Linked DNA regions of Homo sapiens: all the other regions are linked to region 2. Evidence: promoter capture Hi-C in 16 types of primary human blood cells and fetal thymus (Javierre and others, 2016). All regions are on one chromosome and are shown on one strand. The core of a region is centred on a gene start or on the middle of the fragment in contact, and the rest is flanking DNA. Distances in the headings are between cores, read along the strand shown. Region 1 overlaps CD244 (CD244 molecule). Region 2 holds the start of ITLN1 (intelectin 1). Region 3 holds the start of LOC101928372 (a long non-coding RNA gene).

The links. The method cuts DNA at HindIII sites, captures the fragments that hold promoters and counts their contacts. A CHiCAGO score of 5 or more calls a contact.
Region 1: a contact is called between a fragment that was not itself captured here and the fragment with the promoter of ITLN1 in region 2, in 8 of 17 cell types (total CD8 T cells, naive CD4 T cells, naive CD8 T cells and 5 more). The highest score is 8.8, in total CD8 T cells.
Region 3: a contact is called between a fragment that was not itself captured here and the fragment with the promoter of ITLN1 in region 2, in 4 of 17 cell types (megakaryocytes, erythroblasts, M2 macrophages and 1 more). The highest score is 7.0, in megakaryocytes.

The regions. Positions count from the first base shown.
Region 1 is chr1:160,829,861-160,833,664 of GRCh38, forward strand. It overlaps CD244 (CD244 molecule), which reads right to left. Exons shown (of 9, transcript NM_016382.4): 8 at 2,659-2,715; 9 at 300-1,567. The coding sequence ends at 1,487. Among named protein-coding and RNA genes, the nearest start is that of CD244, 31 kb to the right of the region's middle. The HindIII fragment of the contact is 4,367 bases long and covers 1-3,804 here.
Region 2 is chr1:160,882,718-160,886,502 of GRCh38, forward strand. It overlaps ITLN1 (intelectin 1), which reads right to left and starts at 2,463. Exons shown (of 8, transcript NM_017625.3): 1 at 2,344-2,463; 2 at 2,103-2,166; 3 at 711-809. The coding sequence starts at 2,160. The HindIII fragment of the contact is 4,692 bases long and covers 1-2,474 here.
Region 3 is chr1:160,929,787-160,932,486 of GRCh38, forward strand. It overlaps LOC124904441 (a long non-coding RNA gene), which reads right to left. Exons shown (of 2, transcript XR_007066689.1): 2 at 1,860-2,391. LOC101928372 (a long non-coding RNA gene) reads left to right here and starts at 2,679. Exons shown (of 6, transcript NR_110695.1): 1 at 2,679-2,700. The HindIII fragment of the contact is 1,228 bases long and covers 823-2,050 here.

The sequences.
Region 1 (3,804 bases), core at 924-3,423, 53 kb before region 2:
TTGCTTTAAGATGTGGTCTGTTCACACTTCTCTCCAGGAGGAAACCAGCCTGGCCAGCAGCACAGTCTCAGGGGAAAGGGATCCTGCAGGATGTGACCAAGTGAGTGCCTTGGCTCTCCTTCACAAGATGGAATAGCCCCTAGTGTCTAGTTCTCTGCTGTCCCAGTGTGAACAGGGCTGAAGGACACTGCCAGCTCACCAGGAAGTCAGACCCTCTACAGCAGTGTTCAAACAGACATGTGTTTGTTGATGGCCCACAAGTGCCCTTCGGCTGCTATAGAGAATAAAAATGCAGGGTATGGAGAGGATACATAAATTTAATTCAGGCAAGGAATTCAGACTGCATCTGCATGATATCACCGTTTTATATGAAACTCCTATGTTAGATACAGGGTAGGAAAATTGAAGAACCAGGCTTTGTGCAGTATCACCTGTTGGGGTCTCTGAGTAAGTCCTCTCCCAGTTCACCCTTGTCGCTTTCCTGGGCTCAGCCAGAGTCACAGCCCTGCTCCCCACAGCCTTGTTGAAATGTCTGGCCTGACGACTCAGGGAACCCAGCATAGTGTCTAGATTCCAACTGCCTCATTCTCAGCCCTCAGCTGCCTGAGCCCTCCCTTCAATGTGCATCCTGGGGAACACTCATCAGGACTCAGAACTTAAATAGAACATGGTTTCTGAGAGGCCTCTTCCTCTGGGAAGCCACTTCTATGAAGAAGCCAAATGGATTTCTAACAATGCGTCTTCATAAATCAAACATCATACCATGGACAAAGCTGGTCTCAACACCCCAGTTATCAGGTCAGCATGTGCTCTGGGTGATTTTTCTACTTAGAGATGGGCTTGCTTTGCACCATCTACTCTCCCTTCAGCCCACTCCCCCTGGTGGCCAACTGGCCAGAGGTAAAGGTATGAGATGCAGGGAGAAAGTTTTTTCTCTGCAATTGAGTAAAGCCCAGGCCCTGGCCCCCACCCACGTGCAGAACCTGCCAGCCAGTTCACAGCCGGACAGTCCAGGCTTTCAGAGGAGGGCTGTTTCTTCTTCCCCTGAGTCACCATTATCATTCCTTCCTCTTGCTTTGGAAGATGGGCCTGGGCCGGCGAGAGTCTAGAAATGCAGTCAACCCAGAGAGGGGAGAAAAGGAAACAAGTGACAGCTTGAAAATCAGGTGGAGGGAATCTCGATGCTAATAACATCACTTACATAACACTTTCTAGATTACAAATACTTGGAATGTGGCCTTTTGTGAACAACCTAACCCCTCCACCCATTCATGTCTGATCTGTAAATTGGAAGATATTATTTAACAGCCTTGCTCTTATCATGGTTGTTAGACATCATTTTCAAAACAAAATATAGAACAAGAACAAATTTCCATATCCTCTCCAGACTAGGAACTGTTCTATAGAGACTCCTGTGCCGTCATCCACTGTGCCAATTCCCAAAGCAGATGCTGATGTGCAAGAAAGGTGAGAATTGCTGCAGCAACTAGGAATAAACATCAAAGTTCTCCAGCTCTTTGCGGCTCAATCGAGCAGGGTTCTGGGCTTTAGGTTGACTCTTTCCAATCTGCAAAAGAAAAGGAGAAACTTCAGACCCTTGCACTGGGAGGTCCTTATCACAATCCTGTGAGGTATGACTTGCCATCCCCATTTTACAGATTTAAAAAATGAAGCTCAGAGTGACAAAACAAATTACTCAGGATCCACGACTAGTGTGAAGTGCAGGAGGGACTTGAATCTAGTTCTTCTGGCTCCAATTCCAGTACTCTCTTAACCACATATGCTTTTTCATGACCTCACAAGCTACCTGGGTCTACACAGTGCCCTCTATGACCCTGGGTTGTCCAGTTGGCTTTAATGTTGGGTGATAGCTGAAGTGCCAGGAATTCCAGCAGGCAGCCACCCATCCCTCCCTTCTGACCAATGGCAGCATCTTTATTGGACCACAGGTGGGGAGGCTCAGGTGTAGTATGAGGCTAATGGGTAGTGGGGGAGGTTGGGGGATGCTCTCCATGCCTTAATTTCTCTGAGTATAAATGGAAAGTATAATTATACCTATCTTGTAGCATTCTGTGAGGACTAAATAAAATAATCCATGTGAAGACACTGGCAGGCTACCTTATCCATAATAAACCCCCAAGAAATGTTGAGTCCCTCCTTTCCAGTCCCTAAATGCTCTGATGGGAATCAATTCAACCACCAGGCTCAGTGGTCATCTCTGAACAGTGTTGACCCCTGAAGAAGATTAAGCTCACCTATGTCCTGGAATGGCTCCCAAAGACTTGCTAATTTTAGAAAATCATTTAGAGTCCTTTATCTTCCCCTCTCTGACCCCTCCTCCGAACACTCTTGGAAAGGAGAGATGTCCAGTTTGTGGCCCACAGCCTGGGAACTAGCTCGGGGACGGCCCTAATTTAAAACCCAAGCTGCCCAGTAAGTATCATATCTAAACACGCAATATGATCTTGGGTCAGACCCTCACTCTCCTTGGGCTTCAGTGTCTTCATCTCTAAAACAAAGACTTGCATTAGAAGATCTCTAAATTCCCTACAACTCTGAGACTGTGTGAATGATCTTTTCCTAAGTGTACCCTTTCATGGCTAGATTTCAGGGCTATGCAACAGACAGTAAACCCATTGAGGAGTTCCAGAATCTTACCACTTCATAGATAGTGCTATTGAAGGAAGGGCTGTGGTTCCTCTTCCTGGATCCAGACTAGAAATTCAGAAGGTAAAGAATACTTAACTTCGAGATAAGTGCTCTCCCACTCCTAAGTGATGTGAGAGGTCCCAAAAGAGACTCAGGGCCCAGAAAAATTCTGAGGCACTCTCAGCCAGAAAATGAATAGAATCTGTCACCCTAGGAGCAAAACAATGGTGTTTATGGTCTCCAGGGAAGACACAATATATACAGTATTTGCCTATAATATGATATTTCTGAACCAAAATCAGAATTTGCTGTTCCATACCCACATACACCTAAAACCCATACACATATGTGTGTGTGTGTGTATATATATATATATATACACACACACATATATATACATATTTGTGTATATATATACACACACACATTCCCAGAGCACACACACATACACATACACATACACATACACATACACACATATCCCTCAGGCAATCCTAATGCAAATACTGCCCCAAACCATGTATCTCTTCAACGCATGCATACACACACCCTTAATGTAAACAATCCAGGCATATAAATAATTGCCAACCCAAGGACACTAGAATTCAGAGGCACATTCAGTAGCATATAGAGTTTACATACACCAAAGCAGGTGAACATGGTGCCTGTGAACATCTATATGGCCTTATATTGTAGCATATAATTAAAAACAAATCTCTCTCACGATGGGATCCAAGTAGGTTGAATGGCTTATTGGAAGGAGGTTGAATGAAAAGTCTGAAAATCTGTCCTAAACCCCTTCAAACCTGTGGTCCCTGACCTGCATGGACTTCCACAGTTGTGTGGACTCCCAAATTCCCATACTACCATGTTAAGGCTTTCTGGCTTCACACTGTGGCTCCAGCCTTGGGAACACCACTCTTCCCATCCCCTTCCATACAAGAGAAAAACAATGACCATGTGTACCAGGATACCCAACTCTGTTTCCAAGTACACAAGAGAGCTACGAACTCAGCTTGGAGAAGGATTTCAGTGCAAAAGGATGGGTTGCCTCAGTCCAGAGGCCTCCACCAGCAGGTGACTGACTGGCCAGGACCTTTCTCTGGTCTCTGAAGGTCAAGATTGTGTCTCTCTAGATCCAGTCTACTCCTCCAG
Region 2 (3,785 bases), core at 1,213-3,712:
CAGACACCAAAGGACAAATACCATATGACTCCAATTACATGAGGTAACTACACTAGGCAAATTCATGGAGATAGAAAGTAAAATGCAGCTACCAGAGACTGAGGGAAGAGAGTTATTGCTTAATAACTCCATGTTATTTTTTGTTTTGTTTTGTTTTTGTTTTTGTTTTTGAGATGGAGTCTCACTCTGTTGCCCAGGCTGGAGTGAAGTGGCACTATCTTGGCCCACTGCAACCTCTGCCTCCTGAGTTCAAGCGATCCTCCCACCTCAGCCTCCCAAGTAGCTGGAATTACAAACATGTACTCCACACCCAATTGATTTTTGTATTTTAGTAGAGACAGGGCCCCACCATGTTAGCCAAGCTGGTTTCAAACTCCTGGCCTCAACTGATCCACCCCTCTCAGCCTCCTAAAGTGCTGGGATTACAGGCCTGAGCCACCGCACCCGGCCCCTCCATGTTATTAAGTACAGAGTTTCTGTTTGGGGCACTGAAAAAGTTCTGCATATGGATAGCTGTGATGGTTGCACAACCTTGAAGGTAATTAATGCCACTGAATTGCACACTTAATGTTGCTTAAAATGGCAAATCTTATGTAAATTATAATATACATATACTTTACCATAATTTTTTAACTAAAAGACAAAAAGACTCCCAGAAGACACAATCCTGATACCCTGACTGAGCTCTGTTTGAATGTTTCATCACTCACCAAATGCACTAGGACATTCGTCTTTGATTTCCTTGCAGCTTCTGGGCAGAGATGGAGACGAAGAACAGGTCCATTCCTTGAAGTAAGTATTAGCCTCATCTAGGGAATACACAGGGTTTATTCTCATTCCCGGTTTGACACAAAACCTACCCTCTCCTATCACTAGTCCCACGCTCATTCCACCACTGTAGCAGAACCTCGCTGCCCGGGTGGTAAGGCCTGAGACAGCCAGTGTCATATCCACTCAGCCCATCAGTGTCACATCCACTCAGCCCATCGGCATCATATCCACTCAGCCCATCCGACCTGACAGCCAGCACAGGCTTAAAGTCTGCCTCCCGCCACAAGACCTGTCCTTGTGCTGGGTCCTGCCCTAAGCACTGAGTAATCAAAGACATTAAAGTTCCCCAGCAAGAGCTTGCCTCTAGAGGGAATTGCTAACAAGTCAACAGAAAATTGTATTGACAAGAATAAATGGTAGAAGAAAGGCAAACTCAAGAGAACAAAAGAAAGACTCTGAGGTAACAGTGGAGAATGGAAACGCCAGACAGTAAGCGGGGCAGTTGCCTGGGAGAAGAAGGCAAGACGGGTTGTCTCATGTCTTAGTCACAGAAGACCTTCCAGTCCAGGTGACATCTTAGCTTATTCTGAGAGAATAAACATGATTTATCAGTAGGAAGCCAATCCAAGGCAGGGAAAACAGCATATCCAAAGGCCTAGAGAAAAAAAAAAAAATACAGCGTAGTCCAGCTGTAGAACTACAAGCTGCTTAATATGGCTGAAACATGGGGTGTGAAGTAGGGAGTGGTGAGACTAATCTCTACTCCAAAAAGTCTGCAAACTATTCGAACAGTCTAGGGGAAAGCTGTGAGGTCAGAGGTGACTGACCTCAGTTTCCTCATACCTAAAACACAGTTAATAAACAGTGCTTTTGCAAAGATGAAGTAAGAAGATATTTCGAAACAGCCTTTTCTTTAAAAAAAAAATTTTTAGACGTGAAGAAAAATATAAATTTTAAAATGTCATTGTTATTCTTGTTGTAGAGAGGAAAACTGTGGAGAGAACATTCTCCAGGCACAAAGCAGACCATGTAGTTCCCATGGAAATCCCACAGCCAAGGCCACAGGAGTGGGCAGTGGCTGGAAGGTGACACAGTTCTTGCCACAGCCCCCTCAGGGCCACACAAAAGCACAGAGCCTGGACCCAGGACATGCCTCAAGCAATACCTTCACTGCCACAGGCCAGATTCCGCCAGAGACCAGAAATCGGCACTCAGTCTACATGCAAGCCAGCCGCTGTGCATCTCAAGGACATGCTCTGTGTCCTGGGAGAGACCAGGATCCCGGAAGTCATCCAGCTGAAGGAACTGCTGTCCCTAGCAGCGTGACTCACCTGTACTCCATCCTCTGGTGGTCGCTATGAGAAACAGCAGGAAGCTGAGTTGGTTCATTGTAATCTAAAGAAAGCAAGATGAAGGTCACCATCTTGGCCATCATTTTTCTCTACATCCCTGCCCCACCCCTGTCCAGTCTTACAAAGACTCCAAAACCCCTTGCCTTTTGTTTAAACTTCACACATCTCTGAGACCAAAAGCAGACCTAAGCTGAAAACAGGATTCCCCCAACTCACAGACCTTGTCTGAGTCTCAGCTGCACTTTCCTTGGGTACAGAGAGCTCCTTCACTCCCTCCCTCCACTGCGCCCTGGAGCTCAACAGAGTGCAGCTTTCTCCAAAAACGCTCCTGATGTGGAATGAGGTGCAGAAAGCTTTATGGAGGAAGCCCAGTGGGGCCAACCAAGGTTTCCAGCCTCACCCTCCCCTGGCACAATGCCCAGTGCAGGGGAGGCTTCTGGTTATCTCGGGGAGGTTATTTATACAGTGGAATTAACAGGTTCTAAAGAAAAAACCAATCCTAAGAATCACCTGCTAGCGTTGTTCCTGGATCTGGGGGTTTCATGGACCTGTGTCAAGTAGGAAGTAGACGAAGAGATTAACAAGAGTTGGTGTTGGTTTTGGGTTTTTGTGCCTTTCTTTCTTGCAAAATAAAAACTTTCTCTAAATTAAGCATCTGTTGGCTTGGCACATTGGCTCAAATCCCAATACTTTGGGAGGCCAAGGCAGAAGGATCACTTGAACTCAGGAGTTTGAGACCAGCCTGGGCAACATAGGGCAACCTCTTCTCTACTAAAAATAAAAGTAAAAAAATTAGCATGGCATGGTGGTACTTGCCTATAGTTTCAGGTGGGGCTGAGGCAAGGCAAAAGGGTAACTTAAGTCCCAGAGATAGAGGATTCAGTGAAATATGACCGTGCCACTGTACTTCAGCTTAGGTATCTCAAAATAAATAAATAAATGAAATTAATCATTGGCCATAATTATCAATTCATAGAAATAGAAAAAGGAAATTTTAACAAAATGGGAAAGTGATCATTTCTGAATAAATTGGTAAAAAGGAATGGAGGGGAAAGAGATACAAAACACACAAAAAAATACGAATAGAAAAGTTTTAAAAAATATATAAATCTTTAGTTTGAATAATTTAGTTTCACACAAAGACTCACTACTTTGTCTTTAATTTTGTCATTTTGCCACAAACGAGGGAAAATTTACTACAGGATTCATTTGAAACTGAATCAATACGAAACCTCTCTGCTGCTTCGAACCTCCTGTCTTATTCCTGCTCCTATGTCATGAAGTTCTCAAATGCTACCCTGCAGCTGTAATAGAATTACTCAGTTCTTCCCCAGTGATATCATACATTTAATACATAATGTCATTATAGCATTAATAATACTGCAACCTTTTCTTACAAAGATTGTGAATATCTTTTTTGTTAAGCTAATATTTCCTATTTGTTGGTTCAAAGTACTGATTTGCAAAAAATACTCACATATTGATAGAAGAAAATAAAATAGCACCCAAGAAGAAAAACTGCAAAAAAAAGTTATACTTTTGTAAATTTAAAATCTATTAGAAGCTATTTGCTCTGTGTATCTGGAAAATAATTAATTAAATAAAATTAAATGTATTAGAAACTAAATTAACTCATCAGTATAGGTAACAAAATGAACATAC
Region 3 (2,700 bases), core at 187-2,686, 46 kb after region 2:
GTATATCCTCAACACAGCCAAAGTCATCCTGTTAAATCAGGCTACCCTCCTACTCAGACCTCTCTGAAGGCTTCTAGTCTTGCCCAGAAGGCCCACAATATCCTACACAATCTGCTCCCATCTTACCTTTGTGCTGTCATGACCTGCTGCTTTCCTCCATACTTATGCAGCTTCTGCTAGCCAAATCTCCCTGCAGCTCCCTGAACGCAGTGAAGATACTCCCATCTCAATACCTTGGCAGTTGCTATTCCCTCTGCCTGGTACTTTATGGCTCAATCCCTCACCTTCTTCAGATCCTTCCTCAATGTCACCTTCTCACTGAAGTCTTCTTTAAAGATCTATTAAAGTTGTAAACCACCACCACCCCCAATATATCTATGTCGCTACTCAACTTTCTTTTTCTCCATAGCACTTTTCAAACTTAACATTCTAGTCTGGGTGTGGTGGCTCATGCCTGTAATCCCAGCACTTTGGGAGGCTGAAGCGGGGGGATCATTTGAGCCCAGGAGTTCAAGAACAGCTGGGCAACATAAGGAGACCTGGTTTAAAAAAATAAAAATAAATAAATAAATAAAAACTTGACATTCTATTATTTATTTTTATAGCATATTGTATATTTCCTGGTACTAGGGTACAATCTCCAGAAAGGCAGAAATGTGTACCTGACTTGTTGCTATATCCCCAGCATCTAGAATATGTTCTGGCACATAATAGGCTCGCAATTAATGCTTTTAAAAGAAATAAACACACAAATTTGTGATTAGAAAACATTCATGAAGCCTGCTGTTAGTTCTAGAGCAGCCACTAAAAGGATAGAAAAAAAGCTTACAATTTTAAAACTAGTAGAGAGAAAAAAACAATGACACAATTGTGTCAGTTTCCTAGGGTTGCCATAACAAATTGTCACAACCTAGGTGGCTTTTTAAGAAATTACTCTATTTCAGAGGTGAGAAGTCCAAAATTAAGGCATCAGCAGGACTGTGCTCTGTCCAAAGACTCTGCAGGAGGATCTTCTCTTGCCTCATCCAGCTTCAGGTAGAAAGCAATCCTTGGGTTTTTTGTTTGTTTGCTTTTGGTTTTGATAGAAATGGAGTTTCACTGTATTTTTTGCCCAGGCTGGTCTCAAACTCCTGGGCTCAAGCAATCATCCCACCTCAGCCTCCCAAAGTACTGGGATTACAGGTATGAGGCACCATGCCTGGCCAATCCTTGGTATTTATTGATTTGTGGCCACATAACTCCCTTCTCTGCCTCCGTCTTCATACAGCTGCCTTCCATCTGTGTGTGTTTCTGCATCTGTGTCTCTTCTCTTCTTATAAGGATATTAGTTATATTGGAATTAGGGCCCACCCTAATCCACTATAACTGCATTTTAAATAGTTGCATCTGCAAAAATCTCATTTCCAAATAAGGTCACATTCACAGGTACCTTGGATTAGGACTTTAACATACCACTTTAGGGAACACAGTTCAACTCACAATAGCAATCATCAGTCTTGGTCTTGAATTATGTCTATATTCATACAGAATGCTCAGCAATGCTATGATCTGAACATTTATGTCCTCTCAAATTCATATGTAGGTTTGTTAATATCCTGTTTAGAATTGTTGCATATACAGTCATGAGGGTGGTTGGCTTATAATTATCTTTTCTTGTGATACTCTTGTGAGATTTTCATATCAAGGTTATGCTGGATACATTGTTAGAGGAGCAGCCCACAAGACCACCCTCACTTCTGACACCGATTGCAAGGTTGGGGTCCCCCAATATCCTCCTCCTCTCTGACATTAATTGTCAGCTTGGGGGGACCCCAAGACCACCCGTGAGTTTAATAATTCACAAGACAAACTCACAGTGCTCATGGAAAGTTACGGTTTATTGCAGCTAAGAATACAGGTTAAAATCAGCCAAGGGAAGGGGTACATAGGGCAGAGTTCAGGAAAGCTCTAAACACAGAACTCCCAGTTGTCCTTTCCATGAGTTGTGGACAGTGTTAATTTCCTGACATCCAGTGTGTGATAATACTCGCAGAATATTGTCAACCAGGGAAGCTTACTCAGGCCAGTTTATTAGGCTCAATCACATAAATCTGGTCAGCTGCCCTCAGTCTCCTAGCCCTTGCAAAGTTTGAGCTGATACCACTGTTCTGGTGTGGGGTTTTCATGAGGTTGCAGTCACATGGTGGCTGGGGTTGGGATAATCTTTAAGACTCTTTCTCTAACATGTCCGATCCCTGGGTGGGCAGACTGAAACAGCTACAGAAAGAAGCATATATGGCTTCTTGGGCATCTTTCTACTTCTATATGATCTTTTCACATGGTCTCTCCAGCATAGCAGCTTCAGGATAGTGGACTTCTCACTTAATAAATCAGGATCCGAAGGCACAAGTCCTAAGAAAGAGAAAGCCAGGAAGAAGCTGTATCATTTTTTAGGATGCAGTCTCAGAGGTCACACTTCTGCCATATTCTTTTCATGAAAACTTAGTCACTAAGCCCGCCCAAATTTGGTGGGGTGGGGGGAATTACCAAAGAATTGGCAGGCTATATGCAGAATATGCCATATCAGTGAATTTTCTATGTCAGAATGATCTTTCCAAGGTGAAAAACAATACTGGGTCAGGGTTGGTCTCTGGATTTTGAAAGCAACACATATAACATGTGAGCCTGCTGCTTTCATCTAGGCCAATTTTAAGTGGGGCA